7 separate regions of the Homo sapiens genome follow, and all the other regions are linked to region 7. The links are contacts of gene promoters, found by promoter capture Hi-C in blood cells and fetal thymus (Javierre and others, 2016). All regions are on one chromosome and are shown on one strand. The core of a region is centred on a gene start or on the middle of the fragment in contact, and the rest is flanking DNA. Distances in the headings are between cores, read along the strand shown. Region 1 has its middle 28 kb from the start of LINC01252. Region 2 overlaps ETV6 (ETS variant transcription factor 6). Region 3 overlaps LINC01252 (long intergenic non-protein coding RNA 1252). Region 4 overlaps LOC124902877 (a long non-coding RNA gene). Region 5 overlaps EMP1 (epithelial membrane protein 1). Region 6 has its middle 46 kb from the start of LINC01252. Region 7 holds the start of MANSC1 (MANSC domain containing 1).

Evidence for each region. Contacts are between HindIII fragments. The CHiCAGO score rates a contact against its expected background, and 5 or more counts as called.
Region 1: a fragment that was not itself captured here is called in contact with the fragment with the promoter of MANSC1 in region 7 in 10 of 17 cell types (activated CD4 T cells, total CD4 T cells, M2 macrophages and 7 more); the score reaches 11.1 in activated CD4 T cells.
Region 2: a contact is called between a fragment that was not itself captured here and the fragment with the promoter of MANSC1 in region 7, in 1 of 17 cell types (neutrophils). The highest score is 5.3, in neutrophils.
Region 3: a fragment that was not itself captured here is called in contact with the fragment with the promoter of MANSC1 in region 7 in 8 of 17 cell types (activated CD4 T cells, M1 macrophages, M2 macrophages and 5 more); the score reaches 8.4 in activated CD4 T cells.
Region 4: a fragment that was not itself captured here is called in contact with the fragment with the promoter of MANSC1 in region 7 in 5 of 17 cell types (non-activated CD4 T cells, fetal thymus, activated CD4 T cells and 2 more); the score reaches 8.5 in non-activated CD4 T cells.
Region 5: a contact is called between a fragment that was not itself captured here and the fragment with the promoter of MANSC1 in region 7, in 1 of 17 cell types (total B cells). The highest score is 5.5, in total B cells.
Region 6: a fragment that was not itself captured here is called in contact with the fragment with the promoter of MANSC1 in region 7 in 2 of 17 cell types (activated CD4 T cells and M1 macrophages); the score reaches 5.3 in activated CD4 T cells.

Annotation. Positions count from the first base shown.
Region 1 is chr12:11,574,308-11,577,727 of GRCh38, forward strand. No RefSeq gene overlaps it. Among named protein-coding and RNA genes, the nearest start is that of LINC01252, 28 kb to the left of the region's middle. The HindIII fragment of the contact is 1,540 bases long and covers 899-2,438 here.
Region 2 is chr12:11,662,756-11,666,218 of GRCh38, forward strand. All of the region lies in intron 1 of ETV6 (ETS variant transcription factor 6), which reads left to right. Among named protein-coding and RNA genes, the nearest start is that of ETV6, 15 kb to the left of the region's middle. The HindIII fragment of the contact is 743 bases long and covers 1,194-1,936 here.
Region 3 is chr12:11,557,653-11,561,022 of GRCh38, forward strand. LINC01252 (long intergenic non-protein coding RNA 1252) reads left to right here. Exons shown (of 8, transcript NR_033890.1): 7 at 1,639-1,730. Among named protein-coding and RNA genes, the nearest start is that of LINC01252, 11 kb to the left of the region's middle. The HindIII fragment of the contact is 5,915 bases long and covers 1-3,370 here.
Region 4 is chr12:11,539,197-11,542,516 of GRCh38, forward strand. LOC124902877 (a long non-coding RNA gene) reads right to left here. Exons shown (of 3, transcript XR_007063210.1): 3 at 2,198-2,330. Among named protein-coding and RNA genes, the nearest start is that of LINC01252, 7.2 kb to the right of the region's middle. The HindIII fragment of the contact is 1,720 bases long and covers 740-2,459 here.
Region 5 is chr12:13,209,504-13,212,618 of GRCh38, forward strand. It overlaps EMP1 (epithelial membrane protein 1), which reads left to right. Exons shown (of 5, transcript NM_001423.3): 2 at 1,966-2,085. The coding sequence starts at 2,008. Among named protein-coding and RNA genes, the nearest start is that of EMP1, 14 kb to the left of the region's middle. The HindIII fragment of the contact is 1,489 bases long and covers 1,013-2,501 here.
Region 6 is chr12:11,592,864-11,595,923 of GRCh38, forward strand. No RefSeq gene overlaps it. Among named protein-coding and RNA genes, the nearest start is that of LINC01252, 46 kb to the left of the region's middle. The HindIII fragment of the contact is 2,108 bases long and covers 197-2,304 here.
Region 7 is chr12:12,348,882-12,352,181 of GRCh38, forward strand. MANSC1 (MANSC domain containing 1) reads right to left here and starts at 1,361. Exons shown (of 4, transcript NM_018050.4): 1 at 1,197-1,361. RefSeq lists a silencer at 1,362-1,671. The HindIII fragment of the contact is 5,175 bases long and covers 467-3,300 here.

The sequences.
Region 1 (3,420 bases), core at 419-2,918, 770 kb before region 7:
TATCCTGATATGTTACACATTTTGTAGTTATCCCACAGTTCTTAGATATTCTATTCTGGGTTTTTTTGAAGCTTTTTTCTTTTTGCTTTTCAGTCTTGGAAGTTTCTGTTGACATATCTTCAAGTTCCAAGATTCTTTCTTCAGCCATGTCCAGTCTCCTGATGAGCCCACTGAAGGCATTTTTCATTTCAGTTACAGTGTTTTTGAGCTCTGGCATTTTTTAAATTCTTTCTTAGAATTTCCATCTCTGTGCCTATATGATCCATCTGTTATTTTAATCAAAATTATACATGCACAGAGGTACCTGGTGACACCAATTCTTTTGCCATAATCTCTTTTTCACATTGTGTAACTTGGTCCTGAATTAGAGATTTCTCTCTCTTTCACAAGCATAATGTCAGATTCTATAGTTTTCAAGAAACTTCAGAATGTCTTTGTGAGAACAGTGAGAGAGTTTGTTCTCATTCTAGCCAAGAAAAAAAAAGATACTAAATATCAACACTAAAACTGAAAACACAGCACCAAGCAATTTAGAGAATTTGATTAATTTTGTACATTAAACTATGCTGCTCTATTAGTTCTTCCTTACCACTCTTTTCATGAATTATATTGCAATCCTATATTCTATTATTGGCCATCTGGATGAAATTATAAATTATAATAAAAAGAATCCTTGATGAAGGGTCATGCACATTTTTATTTCTGTATCTACTTTAAATGTGTTAATACTATAGAGTTGCAGAAATTTGAAGTAATTTTAAATTGCTCTTATGGACAAAACCCTAAGCCTCCACTACTTTGCAATGATGGAAAAGGCCACAGAGCACTTTGAAAAATCATACTTTTATCCCCATTATCTCAGCCAAATGTGAACTGTGGCAAACATCATGTACCTGCAAGCTTCTCTCCACCTATAAGGCCCCTGTCTTCTTCACATGCTACCCTTTCTACCTGGGTGTGAGCATCAATGGTCTGGAGTCATAACTTCTGGGAGCAGGTCTGCTTTTGATCAACTATACCACTCACAAGATTTTATGTGCTTGGTTCTCTTCAACTATGCAAATAGTAGATCAACTAACAACTGTTCCAGCCATAAAGATGAAATCCTCTTCATTCTTACATTCTCTTATAATTGACAAAGTATTGAAATACTTAGTGATGCTCTACTGCTACTACAATAGCTAGATAGACCTTTTGTTCCATCATTAGTTGATTCCCCTCCATTCTGGGCCTGTTTTCATTAAGTTTTCCTTATATAATATGAGGAAACTGTGAAGCATGATTTCTCAATCTCATTATCAGCACTCTTGACATCTGGGGCTGTAAAATTCTTTGTTATGTAGGGCTGCCCTGTGCATCATAGCATCTCTGATCTCTGCCCACTAGATGCCAGTACCACTCCCCCAACTTCTAGTGTGACAACCAAAAATGTCTCCAGACATTGCCAAATGTCCCCAGGGAGTGAGGGGTAAAATTACCCTCAAACCCCAAATAAAAACCACTGTTGTAAAGAAAACTTAAATGTTATAATGTATATAAAGGGGACTCACAAACTATGCAGTTTAGGAATTATTATATTTTTAATGTTTTTTGTCAATGTGTTGTAGAAGAATATGAGATGAAATATAGGCAAAGAGTGAAAGGTGGTCCTTAGAGTGTATTCCAGTTTACTGTCTGTATGGAAGTTGCCTTATGAGAAAAGGCAGACAATCTCTAAGGATGCCTTAAAAGAGGTTTCTGTAGCTAGTCATGTAACAGTTAAGTTGGCCATGGTACCCACATCATGATTACCTTACAGCTTATTCCTTGGGCAGGGGACTAGCCCCTTTGCTGCTTGCTATAAGAGGTGCTGAGCCTTTAACCCTAGGTTCCCCGCATGTGGCACAACCCACTGTGTGAGTAGCTGCCCATTACCACCCCATGGGACTTTGGGACAGGAGAACCAGAATTACCATGCTGATGTTCCCACTGTGTGCTGTGCTGTCTTGCTTGAGTCTCTTTGTCTATTTTCACACCTCCAAAGTGGCAGCAAGCCAACCTGGTTACTGGCTTAGTCATCTCCTTGGCCTTCTTGTTACTCTTCACCATTCTCTATGAGGGAGGAGTTTCCCCTGATACTGGGTTAAGTTACTTCACTTCCCTTTGTCTTTGTTTCCACATTTTAAAATGGGGATAATAATGATAGTACTTAAATCTTAGTGTTGTTGTGAGGATCATTCAAGCTAATGTAATAGCCTGATAGGTAATTATGTCCAAACTAATGCCATGTTGCTTAGTTCTATTTTCTCCTATATGTCCCTGTGTTAGTCTGTTCCCACATTACTGTAAAGAAATACCTGAGACAGGGCAACTTATAAAGAAAAGAGGTTTAATTGGCTCATGGGTTTGCAGACTGTACAGGAAGCATAGCAGCTTCTGGTTCTGGGGAGGCCTCAGGAAGCTTCCAATCATAGTGGAAGGCAAAAGGGAGTAGGAGTCTCACATGGCAGGAGCAGGAGCAAGAGAGAGTAAGATGGGAGGTTTTACACTTAAATGATCTGATCTCATGAGAACTCACTCACTCACTATTGTGAGGACAGTACTAAGAGGGATGGTGCTACACCATTCGTGAGAAATCCACCTCCACAATCCTATCACTTCCCACCAGTCCCACCTCCAACATTGGGGATTACAATTTGATATGAGATTTGGGTGGGGACAAATATCCAAACTATATCAGTTCCTACCTTCTTAGATTGCCTACTAAACTCCAAATCCTACCTTTCTTTCACAGTGAAATTTACTTTTCTTTGTCATAGACTACATTTCCATTTCACAGTGCACATCATCTCACCATCTTTCTTGCTTTCTCTCTCCCTCAGTCTCCTCTACTCATTAACCTCCATCCTCCTTTGCCGGACAGATTCCTCCCTTTGTCTTTGGTGCAGTTGTTTGCAGACCAAATTTGTTGTAACACGCCCCTAGTATTTCAGTTTTTACTTCAAGGTGATTAAAAGATTTTCATCTAGTCAAGTCCCTCCTACCAATGAAATTCTTGTTAATAAAAGTTTCTTTATCACCTCACATAATTCATTGTTCAATGAATATTTTTGTTCCTATAGTGGGTTAATATTTTGATATTCAACTATGTGATTTTTCTTAATTCCTCTTACTTATCTTTTCTTTCCCCACCATTCAAGGAGTGTTAGGGTTTTAGAAATACAGATACAAAGATGATACAGAGAGAACAATTAAATCTTTAACCTGAAGCTCTTGAGAATAATTCTGTAAAGTCCATAGCAGAGAAAAAGGTCTTAAAAGTCATTGCTTTCCATTATTAGAGCCAGAGACTTAGAGAAACATGTTATTTAAATCCCCAAAGTCAGACTTTAAATATCCAAAGCCAGTCCCCCAGAGGGCCAAGTACATAATATTTATACT
Region 2 (3,463 bases), core at 315-2,814, 690 kb before region 7:
TTCTGCCAGACTAAATGCCAAATAGATAATTGGAAAGAATTTTCTTCGCAGCCCTGGTCCCCAAATTGGTGTCTGTGATTCTTCCTAGGGTCTCATATTATGAGAGTGCACTCCCTTTAATCTTTTGGGACCTCAAGTGGGGTCTGTGTGGACAAGATTGTGCTTCTTTGAGAAACTTCTTGCTGCACACCAGCCAGGGTAAGGCAAGAGTTAGTCCTGTTGGCTGGGTGGTTCTTGGGCAGTTGAGCATGCTTAGCACTTGAGAGGTTTCTGTTATACCATTTGCCAAAAGGGACATCTCTCCGCTGGTCCTAGTGCCCCAGGGCACAAATGGCAGGCTTTAGGAGAAAATGCACAATTTCAGGTTCAGTCTCTATCTGCATTTGTGTGCATGAATGGACTAATAATTGCAGTGCGTTGAACGATTTCTGCATATTCCAACACCTAGAAAGTAGCTTCCTGGATTAGGGAACGGTTCCTAGGTACAGCTACCAAAGGCTCAAGCTTAAGCACCAACACTGGAGGTTAGAATTAGCACGCTCTAGGGAGGACAGCGAGAGGGCAGCTGACACAATGCCTTTATGGGCTATTTTTAGCTTTAGTCAGGCCTATCTGGAGTGGCTTGTGCTTTCTTGGGCACCGTCCTGCATTTATTCCAGGGTTTGTGCTTGTGACTCTGTTTGCATATATGCCACATGTATCGCATGCTCATGGGATGATAAATTGCAGAAATTATGGCATAATCTGTTTTCTAGCATATAGAGGAAAAGATTACACAAAATCCAGCCTTGTTGTGGCGAAGAAACCTAACATATAGATGTAAAATATATCTCCTTGGAGGCCTGGCTTTGTGATGGGCTATGAACGGATTGTTAAACAGCAATGTGAGGGGCTGTTAGCAAGCTGTTTCTAAGAGCATCTCCCTGGTCTGGTCTGAAAAGGTGATGTGTACATATTGTACATTTGAGATAGTTTGCCTGTGGTGTTTATATGTTGGTAGGTTGTGTGTGTGTGTGTATGTGTGTGTGTGTGTGTCTTGTCTGTCTTCAGTGGTGAACTGAAAAAATAAAGTGTTGTTTACGTGCTTCTATGTTAGTGTCTACATTCCAAACTGGGCAATAGTTTTCTTTAAGCTGGCTTAAGTGAAGAGGTGTTTGGTCAGCCACAGGGTATGAATCAACCAAACTTCAAAAAGCTTCAGTGTGTTTTTGATAACACTCTTAAGTATTTAATAGCTGCTTTAAGGATTTGTGCCTTAGTGTACTTGGATGAATAGGTAAATCACCTCCCCATCAGCAAACTAGCGTTTGGGTTCCCACGTTGGCAAAGCAGGGTTCCTGTTATGTGTCTGGTCATATTTGAACTTCTTTTCACATTCAGGTGACATAGTTGAACATCAGTCCGTGCCAGTTTCTGCTACTATTGGGTTTTTAATGGAAGAGAACTCTTTCTTGTTACTACGATGCCATGCTTCTGCTGTGTTAGCAGCTGCTGTATTGAAAAACAGGTGTCTCTTATAATCCTCTGACTGGATCAGTTTGCTAGCCTGGCAGAGTCTTATTGTTATTGTTTTTATTTATTTATTTTTGTCCCACATAAGTCAGAAACTGCCAAGAGATGTTGATGAGTGGGATTAGTATGAGAGGAGATGGCAGCTTTTCTTGGTGGAGGTTTCTGTTACAAGAATCTAAGAGTCTTATGAAGATAGGGCTAAATAAAACCAGGATACGAACCACAGGGGAGAACCGCCAAAAGAAGGGTAGTAAATGAATGGTTCTGTCAAGTCACCTCTCTGTCATTCTTCAAAGGCCAACTTAAAGCCAGCACTGCCACAAAAGCCATCCAGGACTAAGGTTAGCGAACGGTGACCCTTGTTTGGTCCACGATGCACTAACAGACTCTTCCCCTTGTTGCTTCTTACTGCTACTGGAATGGAAGCTTTGGGAGGGCAGGTGTGCCATCTTTTCCAGCCTGCCAGGCAGTCTGGTGCATACTCGTCTTTCTCCTCCATACCGGCTGTCACTGCCTTCCTTCTGGCCCCAGACCTTTCAGTTGTCTCCTCTCTGATCTTCCTTCCTCCATTTTGTCCCCACCCCCAACACAACTTGGAATGATTCTTTGCAGATAAAAATGTGATCTTGTTACTCTCTGTCTCACACCACAGTACCACAGTGTAGCATGAACCACAGCTTCTTGTCACCTGCAAGGCCCTTTACTGCCTACCTTTCTAGTATCATCTCCACATTATGTTCCAACCACATAATGAACTTTTTTCTCAGGAGGACATGGTCTCGCTCTGTGGCCAAGGCTAGAGTAATCTCAGCTCACTGCAACCACTGCCTTCTGGGCTCAGGTGATTCTCCCATCTCAGCCTCCCGAGTAGCTGACACCACAGGCACGTACCACCACACTAGGCTAATTTTTGTATTTTTAGTAGAGACAGGGTTTCACCAGGCTGGTCTCAAACTCCTGGGCTCAAGTGATCCGCCCAACTCGGCCTCCCAAAGTGCTGGGATTATAGGCATGAGCCACTATGCCCATCCCATGTAACAAACATTTATGCCTGGAATCTTCCCTCGATCTTCTTTCTGCCTGGCAGCCAATTTGTCATTGGAAGTCCATTTCTCAAGCCTCCCTGTTGCTGCTGGGCACAGTGTTCCCCCAGCTTATTGAACTTGCTTCTGTTATTGGCAACAATCCAGTTATCCTTGAATTATCATCCACACTAGACTGAAAGCCTGCTGAGGACAGGAGTCTGATGGGTTCATTTTTATATTTCCAGTGTCCAGCTCAAGGTCTGGCACAGAGGACAGCCAATGGCTATTAATTGAATAGAATTTCTTAATCAGTAGGTATTTATTAAGCTTCTGTTACGGACTTAATTGGTGCCAGGCTCTTTGATATGTAAGATAAAGACCTCACACAGTTGACATCCTGAGCAAATACTCTGTGAGGGTTGAGGAAAGAAGAAAGGTAGAGACCTGTGTTTTGAAACATATCAGGACTCCATGTCAGGGCGAACATACTGCCACCTCCCATACCTAAGGGGCTCCTGTGAGGCATAAGTACTGACATGTACACACAGGGCACTCACAAATGCTCTCCTTCTCAGTTGCCTACTTTCTAGAGGGGAATATAGATAGCTGGAGAAGAAGCTTGAGAACCTTCAGGCTGGATGTGCCAGAAACAGCAGAGACAGCCCAAGATAAATGAATGTATTAACTGATCATCCTTTTTTTTGATGTGGCTCAGGATGCCTCTTGGGTCAGGGAGAGAGAACCAGTGGCTGTTTGTTGTAGCTGTGTGCGGTCTTGGCCATAGCTGGCTGTGGTATCTGGGACCCAGTGGCAGGTCACCACCGTATGGGGCTGCCAGTTGCTCCCCCACCCCATTCCTCTAAGAGCTAGTAGGGAGAGAGAACCCGGAAGAGCAGCACGGCTTGCTGAAACTTCTCTGAGGTCTG
Region 3 (3,370 bases), core at 717-3,216, 790 kb before region 7:
ATATATATGGTTAAATATGAGTTCATACTCATATTTCTGACTCTAATCCAGTATCACAGGGTTCCTTCTAGCCTTCTGCCTTTGCTTATCTATAACTTCTCTCTCCAACAGTGAAAAACCTGACCCCCACTATCCACTTTTATTTCCTTATTTGCCCATTATTACTTAACGGTGCATGTAAAGCTGTTTCAGCATAGGTAATACCGCCCCACCCCAACCCGATGAGAAAGAGACTTGCCAGTTGGAACACAGTGCTTATGTCCAGTTCCTTTGGCCTTTAGCCTTACAATTATAAGTCAAAGCAGCACCTGCAAGATTATTTTGGTTTGCACCTTTTCCCAACCCCTTCAGGGATGTTATGTGTACAGTTACATTCATTCATGAAAGTCTGCAGTCCCCACCATCCTGGTTGATATTTTTTTGATTGTATACATTAGCGTTCCCTCTTTGTGATGTACAGTTCTATGGATTTTGACAAATGCAGAGCCATTTATCCACAACTCAGTATCATACAGAATTGTTCCTACCCCCCACCCCCTCCCCACCTCTGCCTTTTGGAGACAGAATCTTTCTCTGCCACCCAGGTCGGAATGCAGTGGTGCGATCATAGCTCACTGCAGTCTCAAACTCCTGGGCTCAAGCAATACTTTTACCTCAACCTCCTGAGTAACTGGGACTACAGGTATGTGCACACATGCCCAGCTAATTTTTTTACTTTTTGTAAACATGGGATCTTGCTATTTTTCCCAGGCTGGTCTTGAACTCCTGGCTCAAGCGATCCTCCCACCTCGGCCTCCCAAAGTGCTGGGATTATAGGTGTGTGCCACCACACCCAGCCCAGAACAGTTCTGTCACCCTAAAAATTCCCCCCATGAATTATCTCTGCAGTTAATGTACAGTTAATCTACCCTCTTCCTACTGCCACCAACCCCTGGCATCTGTTTTCCATCCCCATAGTGTAGCTGCTTCTAAAATGTCATATGAATGGATTTATACAATGTGTGCACCCTTTGGAGTCTGGCTTCCTTCAATTAGCAAAATTCACGTAAGACTGACCCACATCATTGTGTGAATCAAGAGTTTATTCTTTTTTTCACAGCAGAATAGTACTCCATTATATGAATGTACCATGGCCAGGAATTGTGGCTCATGCCTGTAATTCCAACTGTTTGGGAGGCCAAGGTGGGAGGATCGCTTGAGCCCAGGAGCTTGAGACCAGCCTGGGCAACATAGGAGACCCCGTCTCCATGAAAAAAAAAAAAAAAATTAAAAAAAACATTAGCCAAGCATGGTGGTGCATACCTGTAGTCCCAGCTACTCTGAAGGCTGAGATGGAAGGATCGCTTGAGCCCAGGAGTTTGAAGCTGCAGTGAGCTATGAACATGCCACTACCCTCCAGCCTGGGCAAGAAAGTGAGACCCTATCTCAAAACAAAGCAAAACAAAAATTACCACAATTTTTTTATCCACTCACCTGTGGAAAGACATTTTGGTTGCTTCTAGATTTTGGAGATTATGAATAAAGTTGCTATAAACATTTGCATACAGGTTTTTGTGTGAACGTGAGCTTTCAGTTTACTTAGGTAAAGATCTAGGAATATGATTGTTGGGAAGTTTTGTGTTTTTGTCTTTCCTACAGTGGCAGAAGTGTCAGGACAGTCTGCACGGGCAAGAATGATACCTAAATCACTACTCAGGCACAGGAGAGAGCAGGACTGGCATGGCTGGCAGGTATGGACCTCCATGAACCCCATTAAACAGGAAGGGGCAATAAGCAACCTTCTGGTTTAAGAGTCACAAAGTTAATCTTCCAGGTGAGGGTCACCTTGCTAAAGATAATACATAAACAAAGTCACATGTCTTGAATCACAGTTACCACTCTGGAGGAAACATAGCAATTTAACATAACATTGCCAACATTGCCTATTCTGCTTCCCTTTCTAGGCACCTGATTAGTGGAGGTGGCAGAGCAGGAATCTGATTCAGAGTTTAGTTTGCTCTAATAATTTAAATAATATTTTAGAAATTTCCCAGTCATAATGTAGCCTTGGGCAAAGGGGTGAGAAGCCTCTAGTCTTATGATGGTCCTTGACCTATGCTGGTTGGCATCAGCTTCTCTCTAGAGTGATGAGCCTTGCTCACTTGGTCACCAGTCCTCTGTAAGGATCTGATGCTGAGATCTGTGGCTGGTGAGCTTGTGATCTGTTCTTTTACAGATGAGGAAACTGCAGCCTAGAGAGTTTGAGTGACTTGCTTAACATTTCTCTGAGGAAATTTAACAGTACTCAAGGTCTCTCCTAAGGAAAATAGTAGTTGAGTGTGGGAGAAGGTGGAAATAACGTGTTTCCATGAGATAAGCAAGAAGAGCAAAGACTAGTTGGAGAAGATGGATAATTGATTGAATATCATAGAGAGTCCTGGAAAGAATGGTAAATGTCAACCAATTCAAATAGTTTTAACAGATGAAGAAACAAGACCAGAGAGGTTACATGCCTTATCCAGGGTCACACAGATAGTCAATGTCAGAGAGAGAACTTAGACTCCTGGTTTCTCACTCGTAGCGCTTAACTTTTCTCATTTCTCACTGTAAAAACATCTCAAATAGTCTGCCCTTTATTTAAAAAGAGATGAAGTGAGCATCTGTAGAAGCCCAGAAGGTTTTAGAACATAAAGCAGATAGAAGATCAATTTCCTCTCTGACAATGATTCCTTGCAAAGAGTTGGGATTATTTTGGTTCAATTAAAATTACTATGCTCCTTTTATGAGAAATATATTAAGAAAGGAGATAAATTGGTACCACATGAGTAAAAAAAAAATTGGTGCTTTTCCTCCATCTGTTCATTCTTTTGTGGGAAGACACAAACACCCGGTTCCTACTGACTGATAATCATGAAAAGTGCTAAATAAGAAGTATAAAAGGGATTGAGAATTTAAGGAAAAGAGAATTTAAGAATATTTTGCAGGCATTAGATCCTTGTTAAAAATCTATATTCTTGACTTTAAAAGGACTTTACTAGTTGGAAATGATGAAAATCATTGAAAAGGATTCTAATTAAAGATACGTCTGTCTTACAGAAGATTTTAAAATAGATTAGCTTAATTATGGCCAAATGTATTTATTTCTACCCTTTAATATTGATACTGTGGTTTTTGTTTAATGTCTGTACACAGCTTTTACGTTGTATAGTCTATTTATATCCTATAGATCTACCTCTATGGTTTTCTTTCTTTTTTTGGTGGGGGGAGAGTATCCTCCTTTGTCACCCAAGCTGGAATGCAGTGGCTCAATCATTACCCACTGTAACCTCAAACTCCTGGGCTCAAGTGATCCTCCCACCTCAGCCTCCTGAGTAGCTGTGACTACAGGTGT
Region 4 (3,320 bases), core at 350-2,849, 810 kb before region 7:
CTTTCTGTTTCCATAGATTTACCTATTCTGGATATTTCATATAAATTGAATTACATAATATGTGACCTGTGTCTGGCTTCTTTCACTTCACATAATGCTTTTGCGGTTTAACCACATGGTGCCATGCATCAGTTCTGCATTCCTTTTTCTGGCTGCGTAATACTCCATTGTTTGTACATACCACAATTTGTTTATCCATTTATCCATCTATGGACACAATACATTTCAAGGACACTTGAAATATATTAACTCATTGAATTCTCTCCACAGAGACAGATGCAGTATTTTCCATAAATTTATAAAGTAGAAACTGAGGCACAAGTCACATGCCTAAGATCACATAGCTATTAAGCAGAATAAGGACTCCAGCCCAGATAGCCCAGTACCAAAGGTCTTCCTGGTAACCACTACTCTCTACTATCTCACAGAGAACAACCCCAAATAGCACAACATGGGGGCTAAGCTGTCTAGTGGAGCTTCAAATGCTGTGTGTTTCAGAGAATGGGGAGGTCCCTGGGCTGTCACGGAAGCTTCCTGGAGAAGCAGGATCATGTAAAATCTAACTTGGGGCAGGTCAGGGTGATGTGAGTGACCAACTCACTCAGAACACAGCCATTCATGGGTGTTCAGTAAAACTGGCTCTAGAACCAGCGATGACTTCAGCTCAAGGATCCCACAAGGGAAAGTGCTTGTCTTTCCCTGCACAGCATACAGCTCTTTCGGCAGAGTTCTGGACCCAAGCTTCTTTCAAATACGTTACAAACAGCAAAAGAAGCTGGCTGTTCCTTCTGTCTGTCTGCATCTGTCTAATGGTTTAGAGAGTGGGACATTTCCATCCTCCTTTCTCCGAGCATCCTTGAAAGCCTTCCCAAAAAGCAATGCACTTTGGAGAAATGTAATGCTGGAGAGGAAAGTGGTGTTCAGGAGAGGGGAGTCTGTTCCAGGAACTGGTACACAAGAGCTAGAGGTTGGGTGGGGTAGGGAACTTCTCAAACTAAGTTCTCGGCCTTGTTTCCAGTGTTCTTCCTGTAGATCAGGGCTGAGGACACCCTGCTGCATGCTCTTCATCCCTTCACCAGAATTCCTAAAGTCCATACTCATGGATCCTGGGAAATCAAGAAGGCCAGGGGATGCTGGCAAGCCTAGGCAAGACTGCCCGGGGCCAACCCTGCAGCCTTCATTCCCCAGGCCCACTCAGCCCAGCTGGCCAGCAAAGGCAGTCATGGCCTCCATGTCCACACATGAGAATGACCTGCAGCTGTTCTTTGTCTAGGCTGGGGTCAAGGATTCCCACTGCAGCTTGAGGGGTGAGGATAAAAGTCTACAATCCAGCTCCTAGGAAATCTTTAAAATTTAGGTCTGGGATGAGCCTGTCGGTAGTACATTAGGTAGAGAACTTTTATGAAGTTAAGGGTAAACTGGCTGGGCTGGGTCTAGAACTGGGAATGGTGCCTAGCAGCACATTTTTGAGAACATGCAGCCAGGTTTGGTATGTCATGGAGTGTGTGTGTGTGCACGCACGTGAGTGTGTGAGTGTGTGTGTGTGAGAGTGTGTGTGTGAGAGAGAGTGTATGTGAGAGATTGCATGTGTCATGTGTGAGTGTGTGATGTGTATGAGTGTGTGTGGGAGTGTGTGTGCATGTGTGAGTGTTGAATGAGTGTGTGAGTGTGAGTGTGAGTGTGAGCGTGTGAGCATGTGTGAGTGTGTGTGAGTGTGTGAGTGTGTGCATGTGTTGAATGTGTGTGTGAGTGTGTGTGAGTGAGTGAGTGTGAGAGTGTGTGTGAGAGAGAGAGTGTGTGCGTGTGTCTTTGGATACACAGACATCCTGGAGCATATGCACATTTCCTTTCTCGTTCAAATAAACCCTACAGATAACAAAGCGCTTTAACATCCGGTCTCTGCAGCCTTCCAGAGGAGGCAAGGCAAGCACTATTAAGCCCACTACAAACAAATCAGCTGAAGCCCCCCTCAGTGTCTTGCCCAGGGTCACAGGAAGAATGAGTGGCAGAGCCCCGAGCCTGTGTGCTCCCTTCTGTGCCGGGCTGCTTCTCCTGGGCATGGCTGTGCCTTGTGCATGGGACATTTCTCCTTTGATGTGCCCTGGGTGCCTTAAGCAACTTAGATATTGCTCAGGTAGGGTGAGGGGAAAATGTATTTTCAGGTTGTATTATTCAAAACAAAATAATATAGACTAAATGACTTTGAAAACATATTTATTTCTTACAATACTGGAGGTTTGAAGTCCAAGTTCAAAGTGTCAGCTAGATTGGTTCCTGGTGAGGGCTCTCCTCCTGGTTTGCAGGCAGCCACTTTCTCTTTGCATCCTCACCTGGTGGAAGAGAGAGACAGTGTTCTCTTTTCTTACCAGATCCATCATGAGGGCCCCACCCCATGACTTCATGTAACCCTAATTACCTACCAAAGGCCCATCTCCAAATACCAAACACATTGGTTGTTAAGCTTCGACAAAGGAATTTGGGGAGGACACAAACATTCGTCTACAGCATGGGTGGAAACCCATTTCTTCCTCACCGTCTGTATGGATTGCACGCTGCAGCCATCGAGACAGTGGGCATGTTCTCCTTACAACTCGATCTGACTCCCCTAGAAGAGGGGGCAGGGAAGGAGGGCAAAGCTGGGAGAGATGAAGAATATTAAGAAGAGAATAGGGTAGCCAGATTTAGCAAATAAAAATATAAAATGCCTAGTTCTGAATTTAAAATATAAAATGCCTAATTCTGAATTTCAGATAAAGAACAAATAATTTTTTAGTGTAAGTATGTCCCAAACTAAGCATGGCAAAGGACATGTTTATGCTAAAAAATTATGTATTATATAATAATAAATTATTATTATTTTCTGCAAGTCACATTAACTGGGCATCCTGTATTTTTATCTGGCAACCCTAAAAGAGAAGGGCCAAAAACTGTTGAGAAAAGTCAGTGGATTCCAGGAGGGACTATTGCTGGATTTCTGGACTGATGCTCGCTTTATAATACTTAACTGTTTTTAGCCCCTTCCCTCCCTCTCTCCCTCCCTCCCTTCCTTCTTTTCTTTCTTTCTTTCTTTCTTTCTTTCTTTCTTTCTTTCTTTCTTTCTTTCTTTCTTTCTTTCAGATAAGCTCTCACTCTCTCACTGAGGTTGGAGTGTAGTGGCACAATCTCAGCTCACTGTGGCCTCAACCTCCCAGGATCATGTGATCCTCCCACCTTAGCCTCCTGAGTAGCTGGGATTGCAGGTGTGCACTACCATGCCCAGCTAATTTGTGTATTTTTTGTAGAGATGGGGTCTCACTATGTTGTTGAGGCTGGTCTTGAAC
Region 5 (3,115 bases), core at 507-3,006, 860 kb after region 7:
TTGGGTTGGCAACAGCTACCCGGCTTCACTTATGAATAATAGTAATAATAATAACCGCAGCTAAAGCAACCCCATTATTAGTAGCTGCCATGTGTCAGACACTAGGTGTTTTACATAAACAATCTGAATTCATCCTCACATTTCCCTTTGCAATTGACATTGCGACTTCCACTTTCTAAATGAGGAAACAGATGAGCGGTCAAATAACTGGATATGATTCTAATTCATCCTCTGTCTGATTCAAAAATCTCTTTTTACTGTGCATTTAAGTCAAGCAGAAAATTGGGGAGGTGTGCTAGAACCTGAGAAAAGCAAAAATGAATTTGAATGTGTGGGGGGATTACTAATAGCAGACATGAAAGCTCCAACCTCTCCCCTGAAGAGGCAGGATAAACGTCATAATTTTTGCATTCACAGTTAAGTTGGACACATTCCTAAAAAACAGCCTGGGTTGGAAGGAAGTGGCCAGATTGGGAAGGGGCTGTTGGAGACGGTCAGGGAGAATGGTGGAAGCCATTGTCTGCCTCTCATTCCTTGCTTGCAGAGAGCAAGGCACCCTGATGTATATTAGATCACTCTAGATTTTTGGTTGCCTGATAAAGACAGTGAGAGGAGATAAAAGGCATGTGAAGTGTTGGAATTATAGTATCAGTGCTCTCTAATAAATACCTGATGTGGCATGAAAGTGCCTCAAGCACATTCAAAGCATCAATTAAATTAGGTGGAGTGAGAGAGGGCAGTGGAACAATTGCAGGATGCGCCTGGCCATCTCCTCCCTTGGTTGGGGCATCCACACATCCATTCTGTCTAGGGTGTGAATAACCTCAAGCCCTTTCCTTTTGATGTCCCTCTGAGCCTGCACTGCTTTGTGACAGTCTTAGGCATGACAAAGCTCTCCTTCTGTAGCTGACATAAATCAGAATAGCCTCCCCCATGTGTATCCTTCACACTTCCTTTATTTCCTAGGCTTTATGATCAATGGGCTCCCTTCTCTGCTGTGATTATGGCTGAAAGCTTTTGTTTATCCATGCACATTCTTAATCGATATTAGTTCCCAATCCTCCCACCCTGTGATTTATGCATTTGCCTGTCTTCTGTATTGAGTCCTGAAGGATTGGAATTTGTGTAAATGTCATGTACAAGGAGAAGGCACATTTGGTGCTATCTCAAGTTGCATTACTTTTAAAGCCCCCAGAACCATCACATTGAGCTGTGGAAAATATGACTCTCTGCCCAGACCAATGGCAGGCTTCCTGCCATGAGGCACACAGAGCCCAAAGGCTCAGGTGTAGTAATACTAGTCTGAAATGCTCAGTCACAGGGTGACCAGACCATTAAACTGTAATTAGGTTGTTATAATTATTGAAAACCAAACAGCATTATAATAATAGAATTGTGCCTCTCACATTTTATATCTCGCCCAGGATCATATTAGTAGCCTATTCAGTATATGGGCATTGAGTAATAGCTGCTATTCTTCAGAAGGCATTTACTTCTATTAAAAGTGCTGGGTGAGCAATTTGATGAAAGCATGGACATTTTCCTAGTGGAAAATGGACATTTATATGACATTGTTCAGAGACCTGGAAATTATAAAGGCCTACTTCTTTGAAAATCAAAGTCCTATTTTTAACCTCTAAAACACAAACAAAATAAAATACGAACAGTTATCATAAAATGTTCTTGTTCCTTTTTTGAAATAGAATGTATTAGAGAAATGAATATGTAAATACCCAAGAAGAAACCAAATTCTGTTTCCATGTAGGTATGTATAACTGGATGAATAGGCACTTAGGCAAATCAGAACTAGGTTACAGGGGTGTTTTCAGGAATTTATGATTAGATTGTGATGGTTTTTAGTGCAGCTCTTCCTCATGTTAGCAGATAGCCCACACGTGTGGGAAAGCTGAGTCGTCTTATTGAATCTGACAGTAACCGTTTTTGTCCCTTTCTTTTTCTTTTCAGAACTCTCTTTGCTCACAAGTTACCAAAAAAAAAAGAGCCAACATGTTGGTATTGCTGGCTGGTATCTTTGTGGTCCACATCGCTACTGTTATTATGCTATTTGTTAGCACCATTGCCAATGTGAGTAATGTTCTTTTGTTCATTCATTCATTGAGAAATCATTCGAATATTTACATCAAGTGCACAAAAGAAGTTTAAGCCACAGCCCTTGCCCTTCATGAACTTACAGCTCAGTTGTGGGAAAACAAAATAAACACACGCTTGCCCTTCAAACAATTAAATAACAGGAGGATAAAAGTGAATGTCCACAGGAGTAATCCTGCCAGAGCTGTAGGTGGTTAAGGGCTGGAGGATCTAGTGCAGCTTCTTCGGTCTCTAGAAGAGCCTTCCCAGCAGCAGGGGTGAGTGGAGCTTGAGGTGAACCTGGAGGAGTGGTAGATGGCTGAGGTTTCTCTTAGTGAAAGAGGGAAGGTGGAAGGATCATAGGGATGCATTCAGGTGGGAGTGCTAGCAAAGGAGCATATGTAGGAAGGACAAGCTTTGGTCAGAGGATAAGGAGGACACACACCTATGTGGCTGGAGCCGAACTTCCCCTCCTTCTGAGAAGCTTGATTAGAAGGATAGATGGGAAGAAGAGGATGCCAGACTGACAAATTCAAATTTTGAGCAAAGAGTAGCATGTGAAAGTGGAGTTTTGCAAGATTAACCCAGTGCCACTGAATTAACTAACTCAGACAAAACGAGAAAAAAAAAATGGAGGTAGTGTCTTTTCTCTCTGAACCCTGGGCTACTCTGACCTCTAGTGGTGGCTTACAGCGCCCAATTTGCTTTTACTTGTGCTTTTCTCAGAAAAAAGCCAGCTCCTTGGACCTAAAAACCAAGGCCACCAATCACTAGGCAGGCAAACCATGGTTTCAGAATCTGTTTAGGTCCCTATCACAGTTAAAGTATAAGTGAGTTTTAAAGTTCAGATAGAAGAGCTTTGCAAACATTAGTGGGTGTGATCATAAGCAAGGCTAATTAAGAATAACTGTGATAAGACAACCCCCGCCCACGTGACCTCCTTGTTTTGTAATTTAGCCATTCTATATGTCAACTCCTATATCTATCCAGATAAATCTGATAAGCTTCTTCAAAGTGTATTAATGAG
Region 6 (3,060 bases), core at 1-2,500, 760 kb before region 7:
GCAAGCACAGAGCAGAAAGCCCAGTGAAAAGCCATAGAAATAATCCAGGGTAGAGGTGGGGACCTGGACCAGGATGGGAGTGGTGTTCATGGGAAGTGGTTGGATTTGGTATGTTGTTTGCAGGTAAAACCAACAGGATTTGCTGACAAATTGGATGTGAGGTGTAAGAGAGAGGGAGGTATATAGATAGATTCCAAGCTTTTCAGCCTGAACAGCTGGAAGGGTCAATTGGCATTGACTGAAACAAAGGTGAGCAGGAATTGGCTTGAGTGGGATTAGCTTGAGAAGTCAAGGATCATTTTTCCACTTCCTTCTATTGTGGTAAGTGAGGGAGTCAGGATTTAATGAGCAAAGAAGGAGAAAGAATTTAGCCAATTGGAATGAAAATGGCATTCCAAGAGTAGGTGAGAACATAGATGCAAAATATGAGGGTGAATGATGGGCCCACCTAGTGAGTTTGCTGGAACGGCTTAGAGCAGATGGTTGAGTTGAGGAGTAGGGAGGAGAAGGCAGGAAGTTGAGGGAGCACAAGATGAAGACTTGTATCTTGTTGTTTTAAGATTCCATCACTGAGGCCACAGGAGCAGGCAGGAGGTAAAAAACAGGTGGTAGACGATATCCTGTTGGTTGTAGTCTTGAGATGTGTGAGTGAAGAGCAAGGTAAGAATTTCAACAAAGACAACAAAGGTAAAAAGAAAATATCAGTCTATGGCATATAGATGGGGAGAAATCTTAAGAAAAAAAGGCTGGATTTAGAATATATCATCCTCAGGCAGGGCGTGGAGACTCATGCCTGTAATCCCAGCACTTTGGGAGGCCAAGGCAGGTGGATCACCTGAGGTCAGGAGCTCGAGTCCAGCCTGACCAACATGGTGAAACCCCATCTCTACTAAAAATACAAAAAGTAGCCAGACATGGTGGCGGGTGCCTGTATTCTCAGCTACTCAGGAGGCAGGAGACTCACTAGAACCCAGGAGGCGGAGGTTGCAGTGAGCTGAGATCATGCCATTGCACTCCAGCCTGGGGAACAGGGTGAGAATCCGTCTAAAAAAGAAAAGAAAAAGAAAAAGAATATATCATTCTCATGGCAGGAAGAGTAAAATATATTTTTAGGTGGCCTTCCATTTGACTTACTCTCCGTCCAATCTATTAACTTCTGTGAGTTCCACCTCCAAATATTTCTTGGATCTGCCCACTTCTATTGGTTTCCACTGCTAATAATCTGTTCTAGGTTACTAAGATCTCTTCTCTTTACTATTGCAACTGCTTCCTAAATGTCCCTCCACTTCTGCTCTTGTCTTCTTCTAATTTATTTCCCATATAGGTATAAGAAAGAATATATTAAAATGTCTATCAAACATTTTCAGATATCTGGGATATTCTTTTTAAAGTTCAATGATTCCCCATTTCACTTAGAATAAATTATAATGATAACAGCACACTTGTGGCACATACTGTGTGTCAGGCACTATAGTAACAGCATTACACAGATTGATGTAAGTAATATTTAATTCTATGAAGCAGGTGCTGTTATCATAATTTATATCTATCAAATGAGGAAACTGAGGCACTGGGAGCTGATTCATTCAGGAGGTCTACCTTAACTTGGATTTCCCAGAAAACAGAACCCCACTAAATACATATGTGCTGCTCCCCTCTTGGAGATTGCAATCTCAGAAAAGAGGAGTGAGTCAGGCAAAGAAGGACCACCGTTTACAAGAAAAGGCCACAGCATGGCATGAAGCACAACTGATTGCTTGGTCTTGCAACACCATTGCTATCCTGGTCACTCCAACTAGGTAGAGGAGAAGAATTTATTCATCGGCATCTCTCACTCTTTGGTCAGAGGTTTACCCCGTGGGGCATTAGCTCCCTTGCACTTGTGCCCAAAGGCAGATCTTTGCCCCAACAGGAATGCACCTAGGCAAAAGATGACAAGTGTGACAGGACACAAGGCAAGGGATTACCAGGTTGGTCCACACAAAGCCCACTGGAACCCAGGTAGAGCTGCCTGTCACACTGACCACTGGAGCAGAGCAAGTAGCTAAAGACCCTCAGGACTCATGAGGCCAGAGAACCTGAAGTAGTGCACAACAAGTGGCTGACGCATATAGGCAGTGAAGAATCAAGCTGGGGTAAAAACTCTGGCAGCCGGGCCTCAAAGCCCACACATTTAAAATTTCTCTGATATGCTGCCTTGCAGAATAAGGCCTGAACCATTTACCATGCCCTACAATGTCCTGCATGATCGGGCCCCTACCATCTGTCCAACTCCATCTTGAACCTTCTTTTTCTCACTCACAAAGCTTCAGGAACTTGTTCGTTCAGTTCCTAAACTCCGCTCCATCCTTTCCTGCCACAGGACCTTAATGCATGAGTCCTCTGTGTGGATGCTTTTTCTTCCTCTTTTGCATGGCAAACACTTTCTTATCTTTTAGTCACAGTTTAAGTGTTGCCTTCTCAGAGAGAACTTCCTGACCACTCTGTAAAAGAGGACTTCCCCACTTGTAATTCTTCTCTTCCACTCCATGTGTGTTTCTTTCACAATACTGATCACAGCTTGAAGTAATTTTATTAATTTCTTTGATAACTTCTTTTTTGTTTCTGTCTCCAAGAGAATGGAAGCCTATGGAGGCAAGGACAATGTCTATCTTCCTCACCATTATAGCCTCAGCATGGAGCTCAGTGCCTGACCCAAGGAGATGCTCAATGAATAGTTGTAAGATGAATGAATGAAGTGTTCTTATATGAGAAATAGATTTTTTTTTTTTTGAGACGGAGTCTCGCTCTGTTGCCCAGGCTGGAGTGCAATGGTGCAATCTCGGCTCACTGCAACCTCCACCTTCCTGGTTCAAACAATTCTCCTGCCTCAGCCTCCTGAGTAGCTGGAACTACAGGCACTGGCCATCACGTCCGGCCAAGTTTTGTATTTTTAGTAGGGACGGGGTTTCACCATGTTGGCCAGGCTGGTCTTAAACTCCTGACCTCAGGTGATCCACCCGCCTCGGTCTCCCAAAGTGCTGGGATTACAGGGGTGAACCACCGCGCAAATTTTAAAGT
Region 7 (3,300 bases), core at 111-2,610:
TAATCTTTACAGATCCCATTATTATCCTCATTTTAGTTAAAACTTACAAAAAGTTGTGGGACATAATATGTGCTTCTTTATTAACCTATTAAGTAACAAGTGGTCATCTAATAACTGCCATAATTTTGACGTGGTATTGAGTATAGATAATATTTTGAAACGTGCAACAAGTCATGTGATATAAAGATATCGGCAATATTTACAGGGGGCAAATCATAGCTACTGCTAATACTACTGTGGCTTTTGCCTACATTCCATTTCAGAAGTCGGTGAAATAATAATTTTTTCCACTCAAGTTCACAGACATCCTGAATTCTATCCATGGATACCTTATCGTGGACTCCCCAGGTTAATAATTCTGGCCAAGGTACTTAATACGCTGCCATATTTTGCAAGCCTCTAGGGAATCAAGAGAAAACCAGGCCAATACTTTATTTTGAATGGATTCTAATGTAGCCTCTTTTCAAGCTTTTGCAAAGAAACCTGAACTATGTAAGGAGATGGGGCAGGAGTTGTTTTCAGTATGCAGCATTGAGAGAAGTGTTTAAGAGTTTTATATCATTAAAGAGGCTCAGCAATATTAGGTTAGCGACGTTTTCTAATCCATTATTATTTAGGCTTTAAGGGCCTGAAGTCGAGTTGAATCTTGTTGAAAGACGGGGTAAAAGGATACAGGCGGGTGAGAGAGGATGCCCCTGAGTTTTAACGTCTGCATACAAGAGTCGCTAAAACTTACTCGCACGTAATTAGTTCAAATATTGGAAATCGTCTTACAGCACACTATAATTTACCAAGATGCTTATAACTGTATACACACACACACTCTACAGAGAATTAGACAATTAGCAGTTTCAATAATGAATACAGAGTCAACGACAAGAAAACAGGGAACATTTTCTCTTCCTTTGAGGAAATGCATGTTGCCTACTGAGCTATTCTTCTGCCTCTCCTTCTGATGTCAACGCAGAGCCAGAGCCATTTATGGCAGGTGCCTTGAGCCCGCCTAGAGGTCCCCTTTGGAATACTGCAGCGACTCAAGGATCCTGGTCAGCCCTTATTGGCCCCAGCTGGTCCTTTGGATGCTCGGGTGTGGGTGAAGGAGCCTCGGCCCCTGGAAAGGAGGGGACCGACTCTCTCCGCAGGTAGCGACGTCGCCTGCGGCCGGTCGGGGGTGGGTATTGGGGAGACCCCTTTACCTGGCGTCGAGAGGACCCCGGCGCCCCTGCTGCCATCCAGGTGCGAGGACAGCTCTGTCGCGCCCGCGGGAAGGACCGGCGAATCCGCGCGGGGGTCTCGGCGAGGACCGCAGCGGATGCTCCGCAGCTCCCGCACCGGCCTGGCGGGTTTTGTGGTTAGCAAGTTCCTGCTTCCGTCGCAGCGACGGCAAGTTTGCCGCGGGGGAAGGGCACGTTCCTGCCCTGCAACCCGGAGCTGCTTCCCGGCAACATTAGCGCGTCCCTCCCCGCGGAGGCTCCGGGCTCCCGGCCCCAGCGCTGAGCCCCGCAGGGAGGTGGCTCCCCCCACCGCCCCGCGCTCCCCCCCAGCTCAGCCACACCGCTGACCCCGGGCTGGGCGCGCTGCGAGGGGGAGTGCGTGCCTCCCTGCTGGTGGCCCGAGGGTCTGCAGGTGAGCCTTGCCTCGCGGCCCGCGCAAGTTAAAATAAATGCACATGGGGAAAATGTCAAACAGTACAAAAATAGACACAGAGACAAGTCTACCCCTCACCCCCGTGCCCCAGTCTCCTAGTCTCCCTCCTCAGAGGCAACCACTGAGAGCAGTTTTTTGATGTTCAAGGGCTTATAGTGCATCCTATTGGGGGCATAGTTCTGAGAATCCTCTTTCCATAATTGGAGGATGGAGTCCTCAATTAAAGATGGCAATTCTTGAGTTAAATATTATCTGCAAGACAAACTTCAGGGAAGGTATTTGGCTTTCTGCGGGATTTATTGTTTGTAGATAGGATAATAATGGTGAAAATGCTGGTGTCTGTAACATATATTAAAACTGTATCCCTAACACTTAGCATAGTGCCTGGTACACAATAGGTGCTCAGTAAATATTTAACTAAAATATTTTTGTTGACTGAATGAATGGAAAAGAACTGCATAGGGCATAGGTTGTGGAAGTTTCTAAATTACTGCTGGCCCCATCCCCACCTCCATAAACACACACACAAATGCAACGTTACTAAACCATTGACACTTAGTTTGCCATATGGTCTAACCTTTGACAGTATCTTCACCTCTGTTTTGAAAGAGCTTGCAGACCTGAAGCGCTATGCAATTGCAAGTTAAGTCTAGGCCTGTACGGCCAACAGCTACACACCCTAGTCTTAACCAATAACTACAGGAGGATTAGGTTGACTGAGAATGCTTGTGAACAAAGGTCCATTGTGTGAAACTAACTCTACTTGTAACCAAAGGATGACTCTTGAATTACAATGTTGCTAAAGCTAGGTTTGAAAGAGTTACCAAAGAAAAGTAAACACCAGAGTAATTTCCCATTGCAGTGATTTTCCTGATGCAACAAGGGACTGATCTGCAAGTGTGTTTTATCTTTTATCATCTGATACACTTCAGGGTTCAGGGTGTAGAGCTATCACAGTTTTTGAATCTCTCTACATGGGGTAATCCATGCTAGTTACAAAGTAGACCTTTCCATTATTAGAAACTTCGTATTCGGTGCTTTAATACAATGAACCTGTTTCTTTTTTTGTTTTGTTTTGTGTTTTGTTTGTTTTTAGAGACGGAGTCTCGCTGTGTTGCCCAGGCTGGAGTGCAGTGGTGTGATCTCGGCTCACTGCAACCTCCACCTCCCGGGTTATAGCAATTCTTTTGCCTCAGACTCCTGAGTAGCTGGGACTACAGGCACATGCCGCCACGCCCAGCTAATTTTTTTCTATTTTAGTAGAGATGGGGTTTCACCGTGTTGCCCAGGCTGGTCTCGAACTCCTGAGCTCAGGCAATCCGCCCGCCTCGGCGTCCCAAAGTGCTAGGATTACAGGCGTGAGCCACTGTGCCCGGCCTGAACCTGTTTTCATTGAAGTGATATGTTATTTTTTCAGTTATGACAGTGAACAAAGGATATTGATTAAAATAATGATTAAAGAAATATTTTCTATTATATATGTTTAATTTATAAATATCATTGTTTATTTATTCATTTTTTTAGACAGGGTCTCGCTCTGTTGCCCACACTGGAGTGCAATGGCACAATCACGACTCACTGCAGCTTTGACCACCTGGGCTCAAGTGATTCTTTTGCCTCAGTCTCTTGAGTAGCTGGGACCACAAACGCACA